Linked DNA regions of Homo sapiens: region 1 is linked to region 2. Evidence: promoter capture Hi-C in human tissues and cell types (Jung and others, 2019). All regions are on one chromosome and are shown on one strand. Each heading gives the region's core, a stretch centred on a gene start or on the middle of the fragment in contact. The rest is flanking DNA. Distances are from core to core; before and after follow the strand shown. Region 1 overlaps POLK (DNA polymerase kappa). Region 2 holds the start of ANKRD31 (ankyrin repeat domain 31).

Region 1 (6,427 bases), core at 1,777-4,276, 330 kb before region 2:
TTCAGAGAAAACTAACAACTTAGTTTTACAACGAGAAAGAAATGAAAGGGGGTAGAAATAAACAAAGGAAGCAAGTAAGAAAAGTGATTTTGCAGCAGACATACTCATTTCTAACTTCCATTTTTGTGGCCGGCCTCCACTATCAAGGCAAGAAAGGCTAAATACTCACTTTCCCAGCTTACCCTGCAGCTGGAGGTGGCTGTGTAATAGTTGTGATCTATGCAACATAGGGAAGTTACCAAGACCATTAAAGTAAAAATCATAAGAAAGCTATTAAATAAGCTGGAAAATATACAGAACATAGAACAGTACCTGGTACATGGCACAAGTTCAATAAATACATCTATTACTAAAAGGATCAATGGATAGCTGCATAATAAAACATTAAAAACTGAGAGAAAAACAGCCAGCAATGAGCAAGTGGGGTCATCTATGGAACGTGGAGTTCCCTCTAGCAAGTTTTCTCAAAGGTGGAGAGCTATAGGTGTATATGTGGCTTTTTCCCTCATGTTGTACTCCAGCTTTGCCTCCACTCTGCAGAATTTTTTTTATGTCCTTCCTTCTTAGTCTTACTGTGACACTAGCTGCCCACTAGTCGCAGGTTAAAACTATAACTCCTCTTTTAGAAGCAATCACCCTGACTCATGTTTGTCTACAGGAGGTACAGTGAAATCTGTAGGAGGCTTCCCCTTGTTTAGGCTACAGCTCACTGAATGACCTGGGTTGCTCTATGCCTTCCTCAGGCTGTTCCTCTGTCTAGAGTGCCTTTCCAAGCTCTGTCACAAGCCTTCAAGGATCAGCTGAAATATCTCTTCGTATCTTAATGGAATGTCTGTCCTCTGTGCCACAGAATTTAATGTTCCTTGCTTTCCTGCTCTTGCATGGCACTTACTGTATTAGATACTAAATTGTCAGTTCCTTCAGGAGAAAGACCTTATCTGATTTCAAATTATTTTCTCACAAGAGAGACGGGGAGGGGAGACTAGAAGGAGAAAAATAATGAATTTATAGCAGTATATTAAAGTTGGTTTAAAAAGTGAAAGGAGTACTAGTAGAAAAATCTTGAAGAAGGCTAACTTCTTACAGTAAAATCCCATACCTAATAAATGGAACCTTTCAATATTACCAAAATTTAACATGCTAATTAAAACCTACTTCTTTTAGTACCTCAATTCTGAACCAGAGAATAGCACCATGACCACATATAAACAAATTATGGAGATTAACAAAAACAAATGTAAACTAAAAACTACTCTATTTTAATCCAGAAAATATACCTAAGAAATAACAGTCAAATGAGAATAAGAAAGTGGCATCTGAAATACTTGGACATGGAATCATCTAGAAAAGAAAAAGATAATAAATAGAAAGCAAGTCAAATGGGAAAAAATTCTCCTCAGACTCATATATTAATGCTATAATAATGTCTTCAGCAAGCTATTCTCTTTTTTTGTGCTTAAAGCAAGTGTAGTTGCCAAAAGGAAACCTCTCCACTGCATGACTCATACATTCCACTTTCCTTTACTATCTCTCATTAGTCACCCTTGTCTGAACTCTTTTCTTTCTACATCAACCAGATGCATGCCACTACTGCTTTTAAAAGTTTCTTCAACTGAAATCCCCATTCATATTGTCCTTTCTTCCATTTTCCAATGACTTTCAAGTTCTGATCTGAGTCTCCAACATGCACGTTGTTCCTTTTGCTACTGCTCAAAACTGGTGTGTGTCACACTCGTTAAGAATAACGGCTTCGGGGATTCCCGGGTAAGATGGCTGCAGCTCCCAGTGAGACCAAGGCAGAAGGCAGGTGATTTCTGCATTTCCAACTGAGGTACCCGGCTCACCTCACTGGGACTGATTAGAAAGTGGGTGCAGGCCACGAAAGGCTAGGAGAAGCAGGGTGGGGTGTCACCTCACCTGGGAAGCACAAGGGGTCTGGGAACTCCCTCCCCTAGCCAAGGGAAGCCGTGAGGGACTGTGCCGTTGGTGAGGGATGGTGCTATCCAGCCTAGATATTACGCTTTTCCCACTGTCTTCACAACCTGGAGACCAGGAGATTTCACGGGGTGCCTACACAACCAGGGCCCTGGGTTTCAAGCACAAAACTGGGCGGCCATTTGGGCAGACACTGAGCTAGCTGCAGGAGTTTTTTTTCATACCCCAGTGGTGCCTGAACGCCAGAGAGACAGAACCGTTCATTCCCTGGGAAACGGGGCTGAAGCCAGGGAGCTGAGTGGTCTGGCTCAGCGGATCCCACGCCCACGGAGCCCAGCAAGCTAAGATCCACTGGCTTGAAATTCTCGCTGCTGGCAGAGCAGTCTGAAGTTGACCTGGGACACTCCAGCTTGGTGAAGGGAGGTGCGTCATCCATTACTGAGGCCTGAGTAGGTGGTTTTCCCCTCACAGTGTAAACAAACCCAGTGGGAAGTTCGAACTGGGTGGAACCCACCACAGCTTGGCAAGGCCACTGTAGCCAGACTGCCTTCCTAGATTCCTCCTCTCTGGGCAGGGCATCTCTGAAAGAAAGGCCACAACCCCAGTCAGGGGCTTATTGATAAAACTCCCATCTCCCTAGGACAGAGCACCAGGGGAAAGGGGCAGTTGTGGGCACAGCTTCAGCAGACTTAAACATTCCTGCCTGCTGGCTCTGAAGAGAGCAGCGGATCGCCCAGCACAGCGCTCAAGCTCTGCTAAGGAACAGACTGCCTCCTCAAGTGGGTGCCTGACCCCAATGCCTCCTGATGGCAGGGGTTGACAGACACCTCATACAGGAGAGCTCCAGCTGGCATCTGATGGTGCCCCTCTGGGATGAAGCTTCCAGAGGAAGGAACAGGCAGCAATCTTTGCTGTTCTGCAGCCTCCACTGGTGATACCCAGGCAAACAGGGTCTGGAGTAGACCTCCAGCAAACTCCAGCAGAACTTCAGAAGAGGGTCCTGCTAGAAGGAAAAATAACAAACAGAAAGCAACAGCATCAACATCAACAAAGAGGATAACCACGCAAAAACGCCATTCAAAGGTTACCAAAATCAAACACTAAAGGTAGATAAATCCACAAAGATGAGGAAAAAACAGTGCAAAAAGGCTGAAAATTCCAAATAACAGAACACCTCTGTTCCTCCAAAGAATCCCAACTTCATGCCAGCAAGGGAACAAAACTGGATGGAGAATGAGTTTGACAAATTGACAGAAGTAGGCTTCAGAAGGTGGGTAATAACAAAGTCCTCCGAGCTAAAGGAGCATATTCTAACCCAACACAAGGAAGCTAAGAACCTTGATAAAAGGTTACAGGAACTGCTAACTAGAATAACCAGTTTAGAGAAGAACATAAATGACCTGATGGAGCTGAAAAACACAGCACAAGAACTTCGGGAAGCATACACAAGTATCAATAGCTGAATTGATCAAGCGGAAGAAAGGATATCAGAGACTGAAGATCAACTTAATGAAATAAAACATGAAGACAAGGTTAGAGAAAAAAGAATAAAAGGAACAAACAAAGCCTCTTAGAAATATGGGACTATGTGAAAAGACCAAACCTACATTTGATTGGTGAAACTAAAACTGACAAGAAGAATGGAACCAAGTTGGAAAACACTCTTCAGGATATTATCCAGGAGAACTTCCCCAACCTAGCAAGAAACGCCAACACTCAAATTCAGGAAATACAAAGAAAAACACAAGATACTCCTCGAGAAGAGCAACCCCAAGACACATAATCATCAGATTCACCAAGGTTGAAATGAAGGAAAAAATGTTAAGGGCAGCCAGAGAGAAAGGTCAGGTTACAAAGGGAAGTCCATCAGAATAACGGCAGATCTCTCTGCAGAAACCCTACAAGCCAGAACAGAGTGGGGGCCAACATTCAACATTCTTAAAGAATTTTCAACCCAGAATTTCATATCCAGCTAAATTAAGCTTCATAAGTGAAGGAGAAATAAAATCCTTTACAGACAAGCAAATGCTGAGGAATTCTGTCACCACCAGGCCTGCCTTACAAGAGCTCCTGAAGGAAGCACTGAATATGGAAAGGAAAAACCGGTACCAGGCACTGCAAAAGCATACCAAAATGTAAAGACCACTGACACTTGAAGAACCTGTATCAACTAATGGGCAAAATAACCAGCTAGCATCATTATGACAGGATCAAAATAAATGCCCCAATTAAAAGACACAGACTGGCAAATTGGATAAAGAGTCAAGACCCATCAGTGTGCTCTATTCAGGAGACCCATCCCATGTGCAAAGACACACAACGGCTCAAAATAAAGACATGGAGGAAGATTTACCAAACAAAAAAGAAAGGAAAGAAAGAAAAGAAAGAAAGAAAGAAAGAAGAAAAAAAAGCAGGGGTTGCAATCCCAGTCTCCGATAAAACAGATTTTAAACCAACAAAGATGAAAAGAGACAAAGAAGGGCATTACATAATGGTAAAGGGATCAATGTAACAAGAAGAGCTAACTATCCTAAACATATATGCACCCAATGCAGTAGCACCCAGATTCATAAAGCAAGTTCTTAGAGACCTACAAAGAGACTTAGACTCCCACACAATAACAGTGGGAGACTTTAACACCCCACTGTCAACATTAGACAGATCAACGAGACAGAAAATTAACATGGATATTCAGGACTTGAACTCAGCTCTGGACCAAGCAGACCTAATAGACATCTACAGAACTTTCCACCCCAAATCAACAGGATATACATTCTTCTCAGCAACACATCGCAATTATTCTAAAATTGACCACATAATTGGAAGTAAAACACTCCTCAGCAAATGCAAAAGAACAGAAATCATAACAGTCTCTCAGACCACAGCGCAATCAAATTAGAACTCAGGATTAAGAAACTCACTCAAAATTGCACAACTACGTGGAAACTGAACAACCTGCTCATGAATGACTCCTGGATAAATATGAAATTAAGGCAGAAATAAGTAAGTTCTTTGAAATCAATAAGAGAACAAAGACACAATGTACCAGAATCTCTGGGACACAGCTAAAGCAGTGTTTAGAGGTAAATTTATAGCACTAAATGCCCATAGGAGAAAGCAGGAACGATCTAAAATCAACACCCTAACATCACAATTAAAATAATTAGAAAAGCAAGAGCAAACAAATTCAACAGCTAGCAGAAGACAAGAAATAACTGAGATCAGAGCAAAACTGAAGGAGATAGAGACACGAAAATCCCTTAAAAAAATCAATGAGTTCAGGAGCTGGTTTTTTTGAAAAGATTAACAAAATAAGCAGACTGCTAGCCAGACTACCAACCAAAAAAAAGTCCAGGACCAGACAGATTCACAGCCAGATACAGTGGCTCACGTCTGTAATCCCAGCACTTTGGGAGGCTGAAGCGGGCAGATCACCTGCGGTTGGGAGTTCAAGACCAGCCTGACCAACATGGAGAAACCCCACCTCTACTAAAAACACAACAATTCACAGCTGAATTCTACCAGAGGTACAAAGAGGAGCTGGTACCATTCCTTCTAAAACTATTCCAAACAACAGAAAAAGAGGGACTCCCCGCTAACTCATTTTATGAGGCCAGCATCATCCTGATACCAAAACCTGAGAGAGACACAACAACAACAAAAAAATTTCAGGCCAATATCCCTGATGAACATCAATGCGAAAATCCTCAATAAAATACTGGCAAACCAAATCCAGCAGTACATTAAAAAGCTTATCCAACGCAATCAAGTCAGCTTCATCCCTGGGATGTAAGGCTGGTTCAACATATGCAATTCAATAAACGTAATCCATCACATAAACAGAACCAATGACAAAAACTACATGATTATCTCAATGGATGCAGAAAAGACCTTGGATAAAATTCAACACCCCTTCATGCTAAAAACTCTCAATAAACTAGGTATTGATGGAACGTATCTCAAAATAATAAGAGCTATTTATTACAAACCCACAGCCAATATCATACTGAATGGACAAAAGCTGGAAGCATTCCCTTTGAAAACCAGCACTAGACAAGGATGTCCTCTCTCACCACTCCTATTCAACATAGTATTGGAAGTTCTGGTCAGGGCAATCAGGCAAGAGAAAGAAATAAAGGGTATTCAATTAGGAAGAGAGGGAGTCAAATTACCTCTGTTTGCAGGTGACATGATTGTATATTTAGAAAACCCCATTGTCTCAGCCCAAAAACTCCTTAAGCTGATAAGCAACTTCAGCAATGTCTCAGGATACCAAATCAATATGCAAAAATCACAAACTTTCCTATACACCAATAGACAAACAGAGAGCCAAATCATGAGTGAACTCTCACTCACAATTGCTACAAAGAGAATAAATAAAATACCTAGGAATACAAATTACAAGGGATGTGAAGGACCTCTTCAAGGAGAGCTACAAACCACTGCTCATGCAAATAAAGGAGGACACAAACAAATGGAAAAACATTCCATA
Region 2 (5,973 bases), core at 2,678-5,177:
ATTGTGTTATGATAAATCAAATCTTCCATGAAAGTCTCATCTCTTACAGTTCTAGGATCCAAAGTAACCTGGATAGGAAATAAATAATATGAAGCTATAGGCAGCGAAGAATCTTAATTATAAAAGCAAAATATATTGTGTAATCACAAAATAATGAGCCTTCTTTTTCTTTTTAAACATCAAAAAAAAATTTTAAATTCACCTTTACAACAATAATTCCCCAAGAGGACATTTTTCTTGTAAGATTATAGCCCAAATGGAGTAGACCAAGTAAAATTTAATTACATTTCTTAAAAATTATGGCCAGGCGTGGTGGCTGAAGCTTGTAATCCCAGCACTATGGGAGGCCGAGGTGGGTGAATCACCTGAGGTCAGGAGTTCGAGGCCAGCCTGACCAACATGGAGAAACCCCGTCTCTACTAAAAATACAAAATTAGCCGGGTGAGGTGGCACATATCTGTAATCCCAGCTCCTTGGGAGGCTGAGGCAGGAGAATCACTTGAACCCGGGAGGTGGGAGGTTGCAGCGAGCCAAGATCGCGCCATAGCACTCCAGCCTGGACGACAAGAGCGAAACTCCGTCTCAAAAAAAAATTTTTTTTCCCCCTCATTAACTATGGTTATTCTGAATATAAAGTGTATAGGAGAGGCAGGATAAAGTCTTTTTATCGTTATTAATTTTAGAATAATAAATGGTGTCTAGCAACCTCCAAAAGTAGCCAATTATTATTTTTTAATAATAATGTTTACAGATTTTTACATACTCGGCGATGTTTTAATCTATTTGAAAATTCAAACTAATTCAAAAGAAAGCTGAGCTCTATTTCCTTTGAAACACAGTTGCAGTACCTGATTCCTGCCATTCCTGAAATACCTGGGAAACCTCTCCTTGGTTCAATTACATGACTCAACTCACCCTGCTTAAACCAGTATGAATTGTACTGCAGCCTAGATTTCCTAAAACAGATCTTCTGTTCATTTTTCCACCTCTGTCCTGCACTGAAACTTTGGATTTCATAAAAACAAACAAAAAAAGGTTTATTTAAAATCACACTGGCATTTATGAGGCTCATCTCTGCCATTTCTTTTTCATTCTTTGAATCTTAGCAACTCTCTTAAATAAAAGGAGAACAGATGATGCAAAAATAACTGACTTTTTCCCGCCAAAAGAGAAAGCATTTTTAAAAAGAATGTGAATTTCAGGCCCAGAAGAATGTGAATTTATCTATAGCAGATCCTCGAATAACATTTATTTCAATGGTGTTTCAACACTGATGAGGGAAGAAAATTATTATACTTCCCAGCCAGGGCCACTGTGTATGTGGAGTTTGCATGTTCTCCCTATGTCAGCATGTTTCCTCCAGGTATTCTGGTTTCCTCTCACATCCCAAAGATGTGTATGTTAGGCTCATTGACTTATCTAACTGGTCTCAGAATGAGTGTGTGTGTGTGAGTGAGCACGCTCTTCAATGAAATGGCCTCCTGTGCTGGGTTGGCTCCTGCCTTGAGCCCTGAGCTGCCAGGATAGGCTCCAGCCACTCTCAACCCTGAACTGGAATGACTAGGTAAATAATTATCTTATTTGTTTTTATTAGTCTTTCTTAAATATATATATTTTTATTAATCTTTCTTAAATATATATGACATTTCTTATATATATTTATTAAATATATATTAAATATATTAAGAAATATCTTAAATATATATCTTAGATATTTATTATATATATTAAATATATTAAGAAATATCTTAAATATATATCTTAGATATTTATTAAATATATTAAATATTTATTATTAAATATATATTTAATAAATATCTGATATATATTTAAGATATTTCTTAAATATATATATTTAATAAATATATATATAGCTCACGTTTATTTCAATGTTTAATAGTAAAGGTGTTTTGGTGTTTATTTACAAGTTTGGTAATGTTTTTGTGACCAGAAATATGTTGTAAGAACTTAACTCTCATATATATCAATTAGACAATGGTAAAATTGGTTTCCTTGTAAGTCATTTTGTTTTAGGTTGCAGTTTCCAAGACCCTACCGACAGACATTAAGTGAGGACTTATTGCACTTAGCTTGTTACCAGCTGTTTGGAGCAAGTACTGTTACTAGTGGAGTCATCTTTCCCTCTGGGGCAAATGGAGCCACTCACCACCATTTACTGGGTATGCATCCCCCAATTCCTGTGAAAGCAGAGTTGGATAATTAAAAGAATGGGTGAAGTGGGCATAGTGGCATGAGATTGTAGTTCCGGCTATTTGGGAGGGTGAGGTGGGAGGACAGCTTGAGCCCAGGAGTTGGAGATTAGCTTGGGCAACACAGAAGAATGCGCTAATGAATTAATTAAACAGTGGGTGAGCAGGAAAGGTGATAGGAATTTAGGTCTGATTTAGACACGGAGGGTATAAATGGACTACTGTTAAAAAAAATAAAAAAGAGGTCTAGTTCTTTGCATATTTATTATTGCTCTGCCTAATTTACAGAGTTGAGGCGAGGAATTTTATTTAAGTAAGTTACTTATTCAAGTAAGTTTATTTTTTTATTTTTTGAGACATGGTATGACTCTGTTGCTCAGGCTGGAGTGCGTTTGCTCAATCATAGCTCATTATAACCTCAAACTCCTGGGCTCAAGCGATCCTCCCGCCTCAACCTGAGTAGCTGGGACTACAGGCCCATGCTACCATGCCCTGCTAATTAAAAACAAATTTTTTGCAGAGATAGGGGTCTCACCATGTTGCCCAGGCTGGTCTTGAACTTCTGGTCTCAAGCAATCCTCCTGCCTCGGCCTCCAATGCATTGAGGTTACAGGTAGAGCCACCACCCCCAGCCTCAAGTTAAGTTTAGAAGATAATCACCAATCAAGCATTTTAAATAGCAGTGGCTTGAATATACATAGTAAAAACACAAAATAATAATAATGATAATAATGGCAAAGCTACTCCATATAGTGAAAAGGGCAATGAATTGGGAAGTCAGAAATCTCTAGCTCCATCCATTTATGACAAAACTTAGACTTTATATGTGCTAGATGCTGGAGACTCCAAGGTGAATACTAAACACTTGCTATGGGAAAACAACTTGGTCTTTTCTTGAATCTTCTTCTCACTTGGCAAGTGGAAGCTCACTTGGCTTTGTTTTGAATTAGTTTGAATTAAAAATGTTCAACTAGACTGAAACACATCAAATATATAAAATTCTAGTACTTCATTAAAACGCAATTGACTACTTTTGGAGGTTGCTAGGCATTACTATTATTATAAAAATTGATAAAAGAGGAAAAAATAAAGCATTTATCCTGCCTTTCCTGCATAATCTGTATTTCAGGTAACCAAAGCGTTGTTGAGAGAAAAAAAAAATGCAAAATACATCACTGAGATTAGTTGATGAGCTAAAACTTCTGATAAACGTATCTGTTTTGTCTACCTCAGAGGACACTTGAGGAGAGGCTGTCAAGGGATTAAAGGGAAAGGAAGCACTTGGTGGGCTGCAAAAACTCTCTTTAGGTCTAAGGTCGCATTCTGGCTCCAGAATGCCAGGGCTGCTGGGGCGGGCAGGAGCTGACAGCTCTTCCCGTATCTGGGGCTCACAAGCATCAGGTGCATGGCAGGTCACCCTCCCGGCCAAGGGTGTTAAGCAGGCTCGGTCTGAGTTCTGGGTGCGCCACGCCTGCCTTTCTGGTCTCTGCAGCAGCAACCCCAGCACCCTCAAAGCCTAGCGACCGAGAATGAGAAACCGTGAAAAAAACACGCAGCGGCAGGCCACGCCCAGAGTAGGCCTGCGCGCGCGCGCGCGGCCTCCCACTTCCGGCCACGGGAGCTGGGGGCGGGGCCGAGCGCTGCGCAGGGCTCCGTCGTGTGGCGAGCGGCTGCCCCCTGTCTGCGACGAGCGGCGGGACCCGCGGGCCGCCTCGCAGACTGCTACCCCGCCGCGCTCGCGGCCGCCTGCGTCCTCCTCAGCAGCCCTGCGACAAGTCCCGGCTCCTGCTGCGATTATATTATTTTTATTTTTAATTCACAATTTCCCCTGGCCCTCAAAGCGTTTTTTTGTTTGCGGGCAAGAGGGAGTTAGAGGAGGGTAAAAAAGACTTTGAATGTGAGGCAAAGATGGAGGAAGGCGTCCAGGCCCCAGACTGGGACAGTGATGAAACTGTGATAGAGGGTTCAGTGACGGAGAGCGACCTGGAAGAAAAGGAGCTGCCCTGGAGAAGGTGACCATCATTAGGGCCACAGTGCCTGAACCCTCGCGCCAGGGCGGCCCAGGTGCCCTCTGAGGGGGTCAGAGTTTTGAGTGGAGATCGTGACCAGAACATGTGCTTGTGGGCAGGATCAGAGCCTTGTGGGGCAGCCGTGCCTGAGCTGAGAGCTTGTAAATAAGCAAACACAGTCTGTTCCCACCTACCCCCAACCAGCTAGGGATAAAATGAGGTTTGTACTAGGTGGCTTTATAGCATTTTTCAAAAGGCTTTCCTTTTGGGGGCTTTAAGTCTTTTTGCACAAGCAAAAAAGATCTTGGGTCTGAACTTAACTGCATTTTGTTTCAGGAGACTTCATTTTGCTTCAAGAGACTCGTAGCTCAGTTCTAGGAAAATGGGTAACAGTTTCTCTCAAGAAAAGAATGTGTGATGGGGAAACTGGTCCCTGCCAAACTGGAAACGAATAGTTTTATACGAATCCAAAAAAGTCGGTATTTCAGGTTATCGAAACCTTTCTCTAACATATTCTCTGTGCTAGACACAGGGAAAAGAGGGCAGGGATGAGGCCACTAGGTCTGCTTCATATGTGCTCAGGGCTGTGTCTGGGACTTAAGTTGGATCGTACACAGAATTAGGTCATTCTCCTTTCCCTCTCTCTCTTCTCCAGGATTCTCCTGCCCCCTTTCCTCATCATACCCACTTGCCAGTTCATATGATCAGAAAGACAGGTTTCTTTGAGTGTTAGCCTTTTCACTATACAGCAGTTCCTTACAAGGGGGACAGCCTTTAGCACAGAGTTAAGAAAAGAGAGAAAAAAGGGGGATTCTGTCCACACTTTTCAGGCAATACCGATCCCTTTTCCCAGTTCCTCTGGTAGACACTTTCTCTTGAGTTTTATGTTCCCCAGTTGCCATGGTTGGTGTCTGCTCTGAGGCTAGGGCCAGCCTTGGGGCAGGGCTGGGAGGTGAGAGAGAAAGCAACATAAAGCCCTGGGCTTTGTCCTATACCTTCTGGCATGCAGGGGTCATTTTCCTTGGTCTTCTGGATAAAAATAGGTTTACTGTCTGTGCCCACTGGATGGTTCAAAGCTGAAAGACAAAAAAGAACCAAAAAACCGAAAACAAACTGAAACTCGTCAATAAATGGGTTGTTATTAAGATTTCAACTTCAGTCCCCAATCTACCTGCTATTGTTTACTTTTCAAGGTTCTCGAGTAGTTTTTAAAAAATATTCATTCGGAGTTTTTGGTTGTAATGAGAAACAGGCAGAGGTTGCTATGAGCCAAAATGACTCCACTGCACTCCAGCCTGGGCGACAGAGTGAGACTCTATCTCAAAAAAAAAAAAAAAAAAAAAAGTACCAGCAAGACTTTCTGTTGAACTAGACAACTGATTCCAAAGTTTATATCGTAAAATAAATAAGAGCAATTAGGAAAAGTCTGAAAAATAAGAACAATAAGGAGGTAATGACCTATAGGATATTAAAATATTTTCTGATATAAAATATTTTAAATATGATACTGGCACATAAAGTGACAGATCAATAAACAGCATAAAAACCCCCAAAATAGAATCACATACATATGGGAATTTAGTGTATTACAGAGGTGGCATCTCAAACCAGCGAGGAAATGATGGGATTTTTCAAAAAATGATATTGGGATGATGAAGGATGTATGTAGAAAATAGTTTAGTTGAATCCATATTTCACACTGTACTCCAAAAAAATTCCATATGAATCAAAGATGTAAATGTTAAAAAAAAACC

What was found. Contacts are between HindIII fragments. The study calls those that stand out against the background at their distance.
Region 1: a contact is called between a fragment that was not itself captured here and the fragment with the promoter of ANKRD31 in region 2, in 1 of the 25 tissues and cell types used here (spleen).

Annotation. Positions count from the first base shown.
Region 1 is chr5:75,562,141-75,568,567 of GRCh38, reverse strand. All of the region lies in intron 3 of POLK (DNA polymerase kappa), which reads right to left. Among named protein-coding and RNA genes, the nearest start is that of ANKDD1B, 46 kb to the left of the region's middle. RefSeq lists enhancers at 1,515-1,594, 1,615-1,834, 1,789-2,988. The HindIII fragment of the contact is 3,553 bases long and covers 1,250-4,802 here.
Region 2 is chr5:75,234,832-75,240,804 of GRCh38, reverse strand. ANKRD31 (ankyrin repeat domain 31) reads left to right here and starts at 3,927. Exons shown (of 26, transcript NM_001372053.1): 1 at 3,927-4,222. The coding sequence starts at 4,119. It overlaps LOC124901006 (a long non-coding RNA gene), which reads right to left and starts at 3,767. Exons shown (of 2, transcript XR_007058823.1): 1 at 3,439-3,767; 2 at 1-68. RefSeq lists a silencer at 3,687-3,986 and an enhancer at 4,037-4,206. The HindIII fragment of the contact is 20,855 bases long and covers 1-5,973 here.